3 separate regions of the Homo sapiens genome follow, and regions 1 and 3 are each linked to region 2. Evidence: promoter capture Hi-C in 16 types of primary human blood cells and fetal thymus (Javierre and others, 2016). All regions are on one chromosome and are shown on one strand. The core of a region is centred on a gene start or on the middle of the fragment in contact, and the rest is flanking DNA. Distances in the headings are between cores, read along the strand shown. Region 1 has its middle 29 kb from the start of TPP2. Region 2 holds the start of TEX30 (testis expressed 30). Region 3 overlaps TPP2 (tripeptidyl peptidase 2).

Evidence for each region. The method cuts DNA at HindIII sites, captures the fragments that hold promoters and counts their contacts. A CHiCAGO score of 5 or more calls a contact.
Region 1: a contact is called between a fragment that was not itself captured here and the fragment with the promoter of TEX30 in region 2, in 2 of 17 cell types (non-activated CD4 T cells and total CD4 T cells). The highest score is 9.3, in non-activated CD4 T cells.
Region 3: a fragment that was not itself captured here is called in contact with the fragment with the promoter of TEX30 in region 2 in 9 of 17 cell types (monocytes, fetal thymus, non-activated CD4 T cells and 6 more); the score reaches 10.0 in monocytes.

Annotation. Positions count from the first base shown.
Region 1 is chr13:102,565,973-102,570,217 of GRCh38, reverse strand. No RefSeq gene overlaps it. Among named protein-coding and RNA genes, the nearest start is that of TPP2, 29 kb to the left of the region's middle. The HindIII fragment of the contact is 3,240 bases long and covers 1,322-4,245 here.
Region 2 is chr13:102,770,691-102,775,394 of GRCh38, reverse strand. TEX30 (testis expressed 30) reads left to right here and starts at 1,609. Exons shown (of 6, transcript NM_138779.5): 1 at 1,609-1,713. RefSeq lists enhancers at 499-1,176, 1,177-1,854 and a silencer at 1,437-1,776. The HindIII fragment of the contact is 5,388 bases long and covers 1-3,752 here.
Region 3 is chr13:102,619,031-102,623,088 of GRCh38, reverse strand. TPP2 (tripeptidyl peptidase 2) reads right to left here. Exons shown (of 30, transcript NM_001330588.2): 6 at 49-212. Among named protein-coding and RNA genes, the nearest start is that of TPP2, 24 kb to the right of the region's middle. The HindIII fragment of the contact is 6,535 bases long and covers 1-4,058 here.

The sequences.
Region 1 (4,245 bases), core at 1,692-4,191, 210 kb after region 2:
TCTTTTCCATCTTTCACAACTCCTCCTTGCTGAGGGATTGCCCTCCTTCTCCCCCACACTGGACCATTTAACTGAATTCCCCAGGATGCAGAGGTCCTTAGTTGAGAATTAAGGAGTGCAGCCATACTCAGAGACATGCCTTCCAGGGCAGATGTCAGCACAGTAAAGACTGTCTTCTTTGCTATTAGGCAAGGCATGGACTGTAGTAATAGCTGCTGCATGTTGTTAAAACATCTTTGATACAGTAGATTCTCAGATTTTCTGAGCAAACTGCCTTGGGCAGAATAGGTACTCCATAAATGTTTATGGTTAATGGTTTCTAGGACTTTCATTATCAATGTCATCTTTACAGCTCACCATTCTGGCTGGAGAAATGGAAATTCAGTGAAAACAAGCAAGCAGTCCTGTCTTTCCTAGTATGAATATACCTAAAGAAATGAGCTAATCATAAATTTCTTACCAGACTGCAATTTCCCAATTGTTTTTGCTGAATTCTGTTGAGCATACATATGTGATGACTGCTCAAACGATTCCCTGTGACACCCCCTCAAATGAGAAGGCATCTGTTTGGCCTCAGTTGGGAAAGCATGCTAAAAATGTCTCCACTTTGGCATTAAATCAGCTTATTGCAGCAGTGTACACTCCAAAGTAGATGTTTCTTGCTTTTTCTCTTTTAGAGAAGTGATTTCATTTATAATCTATTTCTGGATAATCCAGGGACTTTACACATTGCATTTGACCTAAATGCTAAGGTAAGGACAAGTTTCTGCTAGTAAGAAATGATAACAGTTTTTTTTTTTCTTAGACAGAGTCTCACTCTGTCGCCCAGGCTGAAGTGCAATGGCACAATCTCGGCTCACTGCAACCTCCGCCTCCCGGGCTCAAGCGATTCTCCTGCCTTAGCCTCCCAAGTAGCTGGGATTACAGGCACGTGCCACTGAACCCAGCTAATTTTTGTATTTTTAGTAGAGATGGAGTTTCACCATGTTGCCCAGGCTGGTCTTGAACTCCTGACCTCAGGTGATCCACCCGCCTCGGCCTCCTAAAGTGCTGGGATTACAGGTGTGAGTCACTGTGCCCGGCCAGTAACTGTTTTAATTATAATATAAGGTGATCATAAAGAAGAGTTTCTTAATGTTTGGAAAGACTCCTGAGATAAAAATCATAATGACACATGGATATATTAGTTTAGTAGAAAAATCACTTGTCATCCTAAGCCAAAAATTGCCATTTAACAAAATTTAAGCCAAAAGGAGGACTTTCATAGGTGATTTTAAACAATAAGATGAAAGTTTACTTCAAAACAATAATAATTTAAGCTTCTCATCCCTCCCTAAAGTAATGAAATCACTTATTTAGTTAGGATAGCTACAACTTCTATGATATGGGTGCATTAACAAGTTATGTTTTTTTTTAATTATTTTATTTTATTGAGATGGAGTCTCTCTCTGTTGCCCAGGCTGGAGTGTAGTGGCATGATCTTGGCTCACTGCAGCCTCCGCCTCCTGGGTTCAAGAGATTCTCATGCCTTAGCCTCCTGAGTAGCTGGGATTACAGGTGTGTGGCACCACGCCCAGCTAAATTTTGTATTTTTAGTAGAGACAGGATTTCACCATGTTGGCTAGGTTGGTCTCGAACTCCTGGCCTCAAGTGATCTACCTGCCTCGGCCTCCCAAAGTGCTGGGATTACAGGCATGAGCCACCACACCCAGCCACAAGTCACGTTTTAATGCTTTAGTGACACACTAGAATTCACTCCTTAATTGATAGCAGTGATGCTGGAGTTTAGTGATAGATGAGAGTGTATGCTGATGTGACAAGAAGAATGTGCATGAACCCGGTGACATTATAGGTATACATGGTGACTAAAGTATTAGCAGTGTCGGAATAATAGATATCTTCATAGTAGAAGGTCTTTCTCCAAGACAGCCCTGGTAGTCCTCCAATCTTGTTTGCCATCATGAGAATATTTATTACTTTTATACACTGACATAAAACTGAACTCACATTTCATAATTTGGTAGGTGATTTCATGCCTTTTTGTGTTTCTGCTGGATTTAGGGCAGTTACAATTCCCTCCACTGGGCAGCTGTGTTCTCTCAACACCAGGTGAGTGGTCATACTGATGAGGGTTGAGATGTGGGGACCATGGACAGCAGAAAGTAAGTGCTCAGGGCTAGAAAGCAGTCATCGGTGGGGGAGAGAGAGTGCCTCCCAGACAAGGGGAAGCAGCACTGGAGCCTGTGGAAGAAGCTGGGAGAGGGAGGTCAGTGTGCTGGAGGAGCTGCACTACGGCATGAGCAGCTATTGCGGCCAGTGGTGCCTCGGACCATTCCTGATTTCCCTGCCACCTTGGGGGTGTCACCATTATGGCAAGACACCTCAGGACATGCCTCTGTTTACTGAAGTGTGTGCAACAAGGCTGTGTTACTTAGGAGATTTATTAAAGATGCAGCGGCTTTCACCTGATTAGGTGAGAGCTGTCAGCCTCAGAGGGTATCCTCAGAGCTTAGGAAGTATTGACCTTCCAAAACTCTATCAGGGAAGAGATAGAGCAGAGTCAGAGAACTGATGGAACCAGCGAAGCAAGTATCACCAGGGCCTTTTGCCCAGGTCTTGACTCTATGTGTCCACTCAGTAGGTGGGCTTCCTTCCTCCTTATTTCATGCGCTTTCTGCACATGACGGGACACGTGTCCAGTGAATTCTTGACTTTTACATGTCATGGTTTCACTAATAAAAGACTGCCCTTTTCTTTCTCCATAATCAATTCAAAAGTCTTTTTTTTTAATTTTAATGCCAGAGAGGGGTTAATTTGGATTTCTGGGTCAGATGGTCAAAAATTCCAAGGAAATCCCATTGAAACAGCTTAGCTCAGGAAGTCAAGCCTGTATAAATCAACTGTGGCCAGAGATTTGGGGTCAGTGAGAGAATGGAGCTGCCATTCTAGCCATGGGGCTAGCAGGCCAGCTACTCGAAGGAAGGGGAAGCACTGGGAAGAGGCATCATAGATTTTTGGCTACAGGAATAGTATCAGTCCATATGGTCATGATGTAGAAAGTTAATTTTTGTTATTACTATTATTGTCATATGAATGATGCCAATTTTATTTTCATTAAATTCTCAGCCCCATCTTTTGTTTCTCTTGTTCTTACCAAAACTCAAAGTGCATAATAGGAGCTAAAAGGATATTTGCTAAATTGAATGAGATTTACTTTCATGTTAATTATGACATATACATATTGTTTACAATTTTCAGTTAAGAATTACAGAAATTAGTATTCTAAATTTTCTTTCAACATCTGTTACAAAAAGTCTCTTTTGTAAGGAGGCATATTCACTACCCTTTGTATTTGCTTTATGTATACCCGTGAAGTGTAGAGATTAAGGAGGACATGAGCCTACTTTCTTTTTGACATTTACAGTAAGGTGACCTACAGCTTGCAAAGTGGCTGTTTTTTGTGTTCTTCCCTGCTGGGCTGGATGGTGGCCCACACAGGGCACCAGGGTCACATGTCAGGGATTAATGCCAAGTACTGTGAAGTAGGCTTTAAAGAGAAAGGAAAAACAAGGCAGAGTCATGAAGAGAAGTCATGGATCCCCCTCCCCACCTGCTTTATCTGGAGAGAAATGTTCTCAAGTCTGCTGGACACAAAACAGGGGTTGAATTTCAGTGGAGTCCCCTTTCTTATGGTGCAAGAGTTAACGCATCAGTAGGGAACACAGCATCAGTTTGAAAACCAGACAGTCTCGATTTGGGTGCCAACTGAAGATAGGAGTTTTCTGAGGAAACAAGCTGCTCAGAACCTGGTGACTTTGGGGACCTGGGGGAATGAGGCCACCAGAACTATGGGAAGATGAGATTGGGAAAGGCTCTTCCACGGGGAGAAGAGGATGTTTATGCTACTTGCTTAAGCCAGCTCATTGTCAGGTCAACCAGAGTGGGACATCACAGTCATGCTGGGGGCTAGGGAAAATAAGGGCGTAGGTGAAAAAAAGACTACTTTTAAACCGAGGGACCAAGATGCACTGGATATTTTCCATTTACCACTCCAGGTCCACTTTCTGTCCTTCTTCATCCTTCTCTGTGCTCTGAGAGAATGACTTTTCTCGTCAATGGGTTTCCTTCCATCCTAGCTCCTAGTAAATGGGAGGCCCTGGCAGAGATGGGATGGAGATAAGACAGGAAGGCCAGGGTATTTATTTCCATAGCTTCACCCTTTCGGGGTATCTGTGGTTGGCTTCA
Region 2 (4,704 bases), core at 360-2,859:
GTTATTCACGAATTTTCTAGAAAAGGGGTGGGGAGTTCCCCGGAACTGAGAATTCTTCCGTTTTTAAACCATATAAGGTAAGGTCTGGGCATTGCCATGGCATTCGTAAACTGTCAGAGTGCTGGTGGAAGTGTTGTAGCATGTTCATGTATTATAATTAGTGTATAATGAGCAGTGAGGGCACTAGAGGTCACTTTGGTCACCATCCTGGTTTTAGCTGGCTTGGGCCTGTTTCTTTAGGGCAGTTTTGGCCGTTTTTTTAGGGCATCCTGTTCTGACCAGATCCTGTTTTGCTCAGCAGGTGGTGATCAGTGCTTGGAAAGTCCTGCTGATCTCCTACCTCAACTATAACTGTGCAAATACTTTTCAGGGGGATAATGGAAATGTTCTTAAATTATAGTGATGGTTGCAAATGGTTTTAAAATTACTGAAAATGATTGAATGGTACACTTCAAATGAGTGAATTTTATGGCATGTAAAGAAATGTTTTTTAAAAACACAGCTAAAAAATTAGGAGACAAAGAAGTATTAAGACTTTGTAATTTGGGGAAACACTTGTGATAAATGACAGCGACTATGTGGTTTTGTGGAATGTATTTCCTTGTATGTACCGTGACAGAAAAGAGGGCAGGTGCCAACTGCACTGGGCTTGGGGAAGATTCATTCATTTAAGAAATTTTTTTTTTTCTGAGCATTATTCATACACAAGAGGTTCACGGTTAAAACAAAAATTTACAAAAAGCAACCCTTTCTTCACCTGGGAGCTTATAGCGCAGTGAGGAGACACAGATACATCCATAGCTCGTGAGGTGACCGGGGAAGGACAGGAAGAGCGGGGAGGTGATCAGGGGAGGCCTCGCTGTGAAAACCACGCGCCCTGTCGACCCCGAGGAGACGCGGCCCACGCTGGGAGGGAGCAGCCAGGACAAAAGCCGGTCGTCGTGGGGTCCCGCCTGGTGAGTGGGGGTGAGGACAGCGAAGTGTGGGCTGCCCTGGGCTTCCAGGGAAAGGAGCCAGATGGAGAGGGGAGATGTGGGGGACCGATCGCGTGCAACAGCCTAGGCCACTGCCGGCCGCTGGCTGTGGCAATGAGCGCGGAGCCTTTGGAAGATCCAGGGGACAGGCTTCCACAGCATCCACGTGGCTGCGGCGTCGCCGACAAGGCCCAGGCGGGGGCAAGATGGTACGAAGCGACCATTTAAGTGATTGTTACAATCATCCCCGCAAAGATAACAGGGGGCTTGACCCCATGTAGAAGTGTGCGAAGCGGCTGGTTTCTGTCAGCGTTTGACCTTAACGGGAGTAACGAATCGACTATGGGTGTGAGGAAGACTGGTCAGAGCTGATCGCGCCTCGGAATGGAGTGGTGGCTGGGATGCGGAAAGGCCCCGAGTGGAGCAATCCTGGGTGAGGCGGAAACGGGGGCTGACTTTCCAGCCGTCCGCGTGCTACTGAGGCGGCGGCCACCCTGGCACCTTCCCCTAGCTCCGCTAGTCCGCGCGTACAGCCCTGGGATGTGGCGGGCTGGGAGACCCACGCTCCCGGCGTGCTCTGCGGCCCGGCCCGCGCACCCGGGGGGCGTGGCCTGCGCGCGCGTGCGTCGTAGCCGAACGCTGTGGCGGGGCAGGCGAGGCGGTCGCTTCGAGCGCGCTAGTCAGCTCCCTGAAGGGAGTGACGGCGGTTGGGTGCCCGCGGCCACTTTTGCCTTCCCGGGTAAGTGCGGCGGTGGCGGTTGGCGCCGCCGGCTGACGGGCGGCTTCCTGGGAGACGGGGAGAGCACCCGGCAGGCCCGCCTGAGACGTTTGAGGCTCGCGGGCGTCACTCCTCAGGGGCGTCTGGTCCGAGCCGGGAGGCGTTCCGCTAAGTTCGGTGCCCGCGGGCACCAGCCGGTGGGGGCTTCGTCCGCTTTGCCGGGTAGGAGGGCGGAATGTGGGGTTGGTACGGGCGGGGAGAGCCGGACGGGGCCAACCTGGACCACGTCAGCCAGTCCCGGGTGACTGGCTCGAAGTAGCCTCGGAGTTGAGAGGGGTCGACCGGGGCAGCCCGCGGCGCAGCCCCGGCAGCGCGCATTTGCGGAGAGAACGGATCCCGTGCCCCGAGCGCCGCCGAGCCCCGCACGCCCGTGAGACCCGCTTTGAATTTTCTCTCCATGTTTGCTGGGGTTGTTGACCCGACCCCCCGTAAGACTCGGACTCAACGTTTTTGTTTGCCCCACGACAGCCAGCTTAATGCTGTGGACGTAACAGGGCACGAACGTTTGTAACTGAAAGTTGAAGGGGCTGTGGCGTCTCCGTCCCGTGGCGTGGGAGGTGATCGCCCAGCCCTTGTGAGTAGTTGTCGTCCTAGAACTCCGCCGACCGCCTAGCCGGTGGAGCCGGCGCTCCGGACGCCACTAGAGCTGGCGTTTCGTGGGCGCAGCACCTCTAGCCGGTCATCTTCACCATCGCCATTGAGGGCACTGAGGCCGGGCCAGGCTTCAAACCCTGCCCTCTCTGAACCTGAAGCCAGAGATGAAAACCCAGACGACAGTGGCCTGGCACGGTGGCTCACGCCTGACCCCAGCACCATGGGAGGCCGAGGCGGGTGGATCACCTGAGGTCAGGAGTTCAAAACCAGCCTGGCCAACATGGTGAAACCCCGTCTCTACTAAAATTAGCTGGGCGCGGTGGCGGACGCCTGTAATCTCAGCTACTCGGGAGGCTGAGGCTGGAGAATCTCTTGAACCCGGGAGGCAGAGGCTGCAGTGAGCCGAGATCGCGCCGCTGCACTCCTGCCTGGGGGACAGAGCAAGACTCTGTCTCAAAAAAACAAACCCAGATGACCTAGAGCAGGTTGCTTGGGGATTGCATTATGGGGCATTTTCCGTGTTTCTGAAGAAAACCAGCATGTGTGCAGCTGCCGTGAAGAACACACTGTGCATCGTGAAGTCTGAAAAGAAGTAAAGCAGACCGGGAGAGGTGGCAAACGCCTTGGGATCCCAACGGTTTGGGAGGCCAAGGCAGGGGGTATCGCTTGAGCCCGGGAGTTCAAGACCAGCCTGCGAAACATAGGGAGACCCTCGTCTCTACAAAAACATTTAAAAATAATAAGCGGGCGTGGTGGTGAGCGTCTGTAGTCCCACCTACTCAAGAGGCTGAGGCGAGAGGATCGCTTGAGCTCAGGAGTTCGAGGATTCAGTGAGCTTATGATTGCGCCACTCAATTTTCCGGCCTGTCCGCCGGAGCGAGAACCTGTCTCAAAAAAAAAAAAAATAGGGAAGCATTCTAAATTAAGATAGTGGTTGTTTACATGCATCTAAATTTACTCCTTCATGAAGTTTCACTAAACTTACATTAAGGCTATTTAAAAACAAACATGAACCTCCAGCAATGGGAGAATAGGAAAGGAAACGCTGGCAATCAAATAGCGGGCTCCAAAACATGTATGGCTTAGCAAACCCTGTATTAACCACAGAATCTTCAAACTGCACGGAAACTGGCAGCACTGGACAGCGGTGGTACTGGGAATGAAGGTGGTGTGGTGCAGAAGGTGGGTGTAAGGAGCTTAAAGAAAGATGATTTAGGTGAAATCTGAGAAGCAATTGGATATCCAGATCCCCTTCCCCATTTCACCTGTTGGGTGACTGCCTTTCCCCTTGTTAGAAGACTGGATGGAGGCTTATTCTCTTGAGAAAGTAAAACAGAGGATCTTTGAACTGAGAAACCCAGGCATAATTGTGGGGCTGCATGTATGAAGATAGGGACACTGAAGCTTGAAGTCTTTCATCTCCTTTGTCTCACTCAACTTCCAAAACTTTTGCAGTCAGATCAGACTAATGCTCTCCAGGCTGAAATAAGAGAATTCTACACGCTCACACACACAGATGGGGAAAGGTACATAATAAGTTGCTTATGGTGGTTTCTAGGAAGTGAAAGGAACTTGGTGGTTGGGGGAAGAGTGTGTGGAAACTTCTGTTTACATTGTCTTTTAAAATGTACCATGTACACACGATACCTATTCAAAAATGAAATGTATTCTTCACCTCAGGAAGATCTATGAAAAACATATTCTGTAAATTATGAACAAATACTTTGACTTCTGTTTACATTTTTTTAATGTACCGTGTGCACATGATACCTATTCAAAAATGAAATGTATTCACCTTGGGAAGTTCTATGAAAAAATTCTGTAAAAAATTATGAACAAACCCTTTGACACAGCGATTCCTTCCCCAGGAATTTATCTTATAAATACACTTACATCGTGTGAAAATAAGTACAGTGCTATGTGGAAGGATAAGTAAGAAGCAGATAATATTGGTTACCTTTGGAGAGGGGAATCTGATGTCAAGTCAAGAGTGGAATGAGTGAGACTTTTTCACTACATATTCTTGGTACCTTTTGAACTTTAAACCATGTTATTGTTACCTATTGAATGAATGAATAAATAAATGTTAATGGGAAAAATGGGTGAGTAATGGAGATCCTGATGTTGGTAATGTCTTAAACAATACAAGAGCTCTTAACATAGGAAGGAATGCTGCATAACAACCCCAAAATTTCAGTGGCTTACATTTTATGCTCATGGATCTTCAGATCAGCTGTTGGTCAGATGTTGGTTAGACTAGTCTGGACTCCAGACTTCAGTTTTGGGTTCAGTTCTGTTCCGTGTGTCTTCATTTTGAGACCCAGGCTGAAAATGCAAAACCACCTAGAGCATGTTTTT
Region 3 (4,058 bases), core at 700-3,199, 150 kb after region 2:
TATCACCTCATAAATCTATATCTCATTGGTCAATCTGAAATGGGATACCTCCACTGGTCACAATGGAGAGCAGGTTTCCATCATCGTATATATTAACGGAGTAATTCAACATCTCAGCTGTGCCAAAAGAGCCATATTCTTGGGCTTCTTTGTAGTTTCTCAACACGGTAGATTTACTCAAGTCCCCATCTTCATTAGAATCAATGCAGGCTCTATTAATTAAAAAGAAATGGAGACAGTAAAATTTATTTTCTTACCTTTCTAAAAATCATGTAACATAGTCTCTCCACTATTTTACTATACTACTACCTCTACCACAACAAATATAAATATAATGACTGCCTGGTTTAGCCTGTTTCTTAGAGTGGGCAGTAAGGATTAGGTAAGATAGCTTACAGCAACCAGTTCTTAAATCATGCACAAAGTGCTTTAAAAATACCCTCCTTCACAAAACTCTAGGTTAAAAACCACCTGGACTCTTAAGAATTACAGCTAAAACTTGGCTTAGAGTTTTAGAGCAGTTTAGGATAGTTCAGACACATGGCCTAGGTCTAACTTCCAGCTGCTTCTTTTAGTAATGGCTTCAAGAATCTAACGGCTTACACAAGCTCTTTGAAACTAGGTGAATTTTACTGAGCTTCAGTCCTATAGTTATAACAGACTTAAATTTATTTCTCACAGAAGGCATTTTCTACATTACTTTATGGTTGTCTTCCTTCATGTTTTTTCCATTTTACTAACTAAAATAGTTTTTAAATTATATTCCGAACACTTTAGAAGATAGCCTGATTAAAACAAAATACACTTAATATTCAAAAAGTCATAAATGAAATGAACATCATTAAAAGTTCAATATTATGTTTTTAGCTCTAAGTATGTTTTAAATGCAAGAACTGTATTTTAACAAGCTATGCAAGTCAGTCAAAATTGCCAAGTAAATTAATAGAAGCCTACTGGTAGAGCACAGAGAGATGATTTATCATAAATACTGAAGCATATTTCATTAACAAATTACAACACTTTGGAAAAAAGGATTCTTAAAAATTTGTTTTTATGCATTGCCCTAATATGACTGATGTAATTTCAAATAATAGAATATACGAAGGTATAGGAAACTAAACACTTATGGAGAAAATGAAGCAAAGAGCAAACAAGTCACATATTAAACAGAATCAGGCTTGAGATTAGTGGGTAAAATGCATGTCACCAAATCTTCCACATGCTACAGAAGTAGCACTTGTCTCCAAAATTTATGCAATCGGCCAGCATCCATCCTGGAAGTCATCTACAAAGTCCTCCCTCTGTTCTTCCCCCAGCCCATCTAACCGCACAGTCCCATCTCCATAATGTGTCCGCCTATTTCCACTGTCTCTTCCTTACCGCTGTTGCCTGATGAGCTGATGGCCTGCTCTGCCCCTACATTTGACTCCTGCTGAAAACCTTCCATGTCTTCCAACGGCTCTTAACATTGAAACTCCAGAGCAATGCCCCTAATAATCATCTGCTCACCTCCCTCACCTCCTGCTCCCATCATATCCTCTGTGGCCACACCAAACTTCTCACAGTTCCTCCAACATCCTCTGGATCTTTCCCCCACCCTTTCTACCTCTCTGCTTAGTTTACTGTGATGATCCTTCAAGTCTCAATGTAAGATGTTATTAATACTTTTGGGAAATCTTTCTCGATTCTTCCTAGACTGGTTCAGACGTTCCCAACACTTGCTTCCATGGAATCTAGAGTCCATGGAGTAGCTTCTATGGTGTCAACCTGGTACAAAGAAGGTACTCAATAAACATCTGCCACATGATTAAGGAATTAACGAAATCATCATCCTTAACAACATTCTCACAGCAAATACAGTGACACATTCCACAGGTCAGTTTCTTATAACCACCATCATTGGAATGACTCAACAATACAACCAACACATCAAAACATAAATTATTACTGACTTCTCTAAATAACACGACAGAGGACAAGTATGAATGTGGTGCAAGGTTATAACTTTCTGAAGGTCTAGTTGACTGAATTCAAGTAGCAGCTAGAATACAGAGAAAGGATATCAAAATGAGGCTCATACACAGAGCAGGGTACATGTAAGTGGGGAGGATGAGAGAAAAGGCTTTTGTTTTATGTATTTCTCGACATTTTCACACATCTCTCAATTTTCTGTGGAAAGAATCTAGAGCTTTCATCAAGAATCTAAAAGGAAACATGACATAAGCAAGGTCAAAATCCACTGTAAAGAAATCAACTAATAGCTTCTCCTTTATGTAATCCTCTGTAAACACTGTTTCTCTCAACCAGTTTTTGTTCCATTTGGAGTGACAATGAGTCTGAGGCTCTGCGTCCTGACAGATGCTCAGAACAGAGTCATCTGAGGCCACCCGTTAAGTGCAGAGATACGCGCTAAACAATTAGCAGAAATGTGGCAGGGAGAGCACAGACTGGACATTCGTCATCAAACAAAACAAAACAAAAAACCCACGGTACTTAAAGAATAGGTCACTTTACCTCCCTTCAGAAATGGTTGGCATTTTTGAAATGTGAAATGAGAACATCTGCAGACAGGACTGGATTAACCTTATGTACCCTGGGATCTACAAGGTTCTCTTCAAAAAATTTTGGATCTCTGAGATCAAAGCCCTATAGGATATACTGTATTATGCAAAAAAGTTACATTATATCTAGTACCACCTGAAAGTATAATTATGCTATATTCATTTATTATAATAAAATGTTCTAAAATGTTATTCTGAGATTTCAGATTTTATTTCACTTAATGTTAGATTAAATTTCATTTCTAACTCAAAAGTTCTAAACAAAACCCTTAGAATAGTTGTCAACAAACTGCTACAAGTGAGTCACTTTATCAAGCACCTTGAAGACCAAGGAAATCTTGTGGAAACACACACTGGTACCCTGGACATCCTGACTCCGGATTCCTTTTCCTAAGACAAAGTAATCTGCAGTGTTTTCAGAACCTAGAGCAAACACTTTAAATGAAACCACCTATTGCCTCACTACTCAATCCCTGCTAATATTTTAGTATTTCTTTAAGTTCTTTTGTAGTATATACTTTCCTAAATATACTCTGTTTCGTATTTAGCATTTTCCTTGAATTTAACCTTGCCTCCTTTCCCACACTAAAACGCACCTAAGGCTTATCACTGAGTGTGACTGTATCATGTTACCCCAGATGGTGGATGTATCAAGGTTTATTATTCTGTATAAAGCCTCTGGAAAATAATTTTTCAAAACGTGTATGCATATGCACACAACAAAACAACATGTATGAATACACACAAAAGTGCATTAATATTTAATATCTAGATTGAAAGAGTTATGTGCAGTTATTTTATTAACACCATCATCCCCAAATTGAGCAGAAATTTCTCATTCAACTTAACATTGCATACACCTTTGATGAAAGATGAGTTAGTACCTGCACACGTGGGAGGAGAACCCTCCTTTAAGAAGGGTGCACTGTGAAGGTGAACAATTGTGAGAGCAGTGAGGAAGCAGTCATGGCATGATCTGTGTGTGCCCCACCTTGTGATGCAATTCTTTGTGTATAAGCAGGGACGCAGACTACAAGTAATTCTTGACTACAAGTTTAAGAAATAGTCCCTGTTTGTTTGTTTTTTTTTTGCAGAAATCCTAAAGCACACATATGGCTAAATATCTGTATTAACAATGTCTTCCTGTTTTCATGCAGATAGTAACTCAAGAAGGCAGACTAATCAACTCCAAGAAGCACATATGCAGTATATAAGGCACTAAAAAAGAAACTAAAAAACGTACATGATGGGTAACTTGGTATAAATCGCATTATTATTATTAGTTTTAGTAATAGAAACAGCAGCAGCAACAGCGTACATTGATTGCTTACTATATCTAGAAACATCAAATTTAATTTTCACAAAGCCCTGTAAGCACCACTATCTCAATTAACAAATGAGGAAACATTTCCAAATATACGGATGGTCAACATACTAATAAATTATTAATGAAGTAAGTTTATTTAAATCAGATAAAAGTCAGGTTTAGTGTCAATA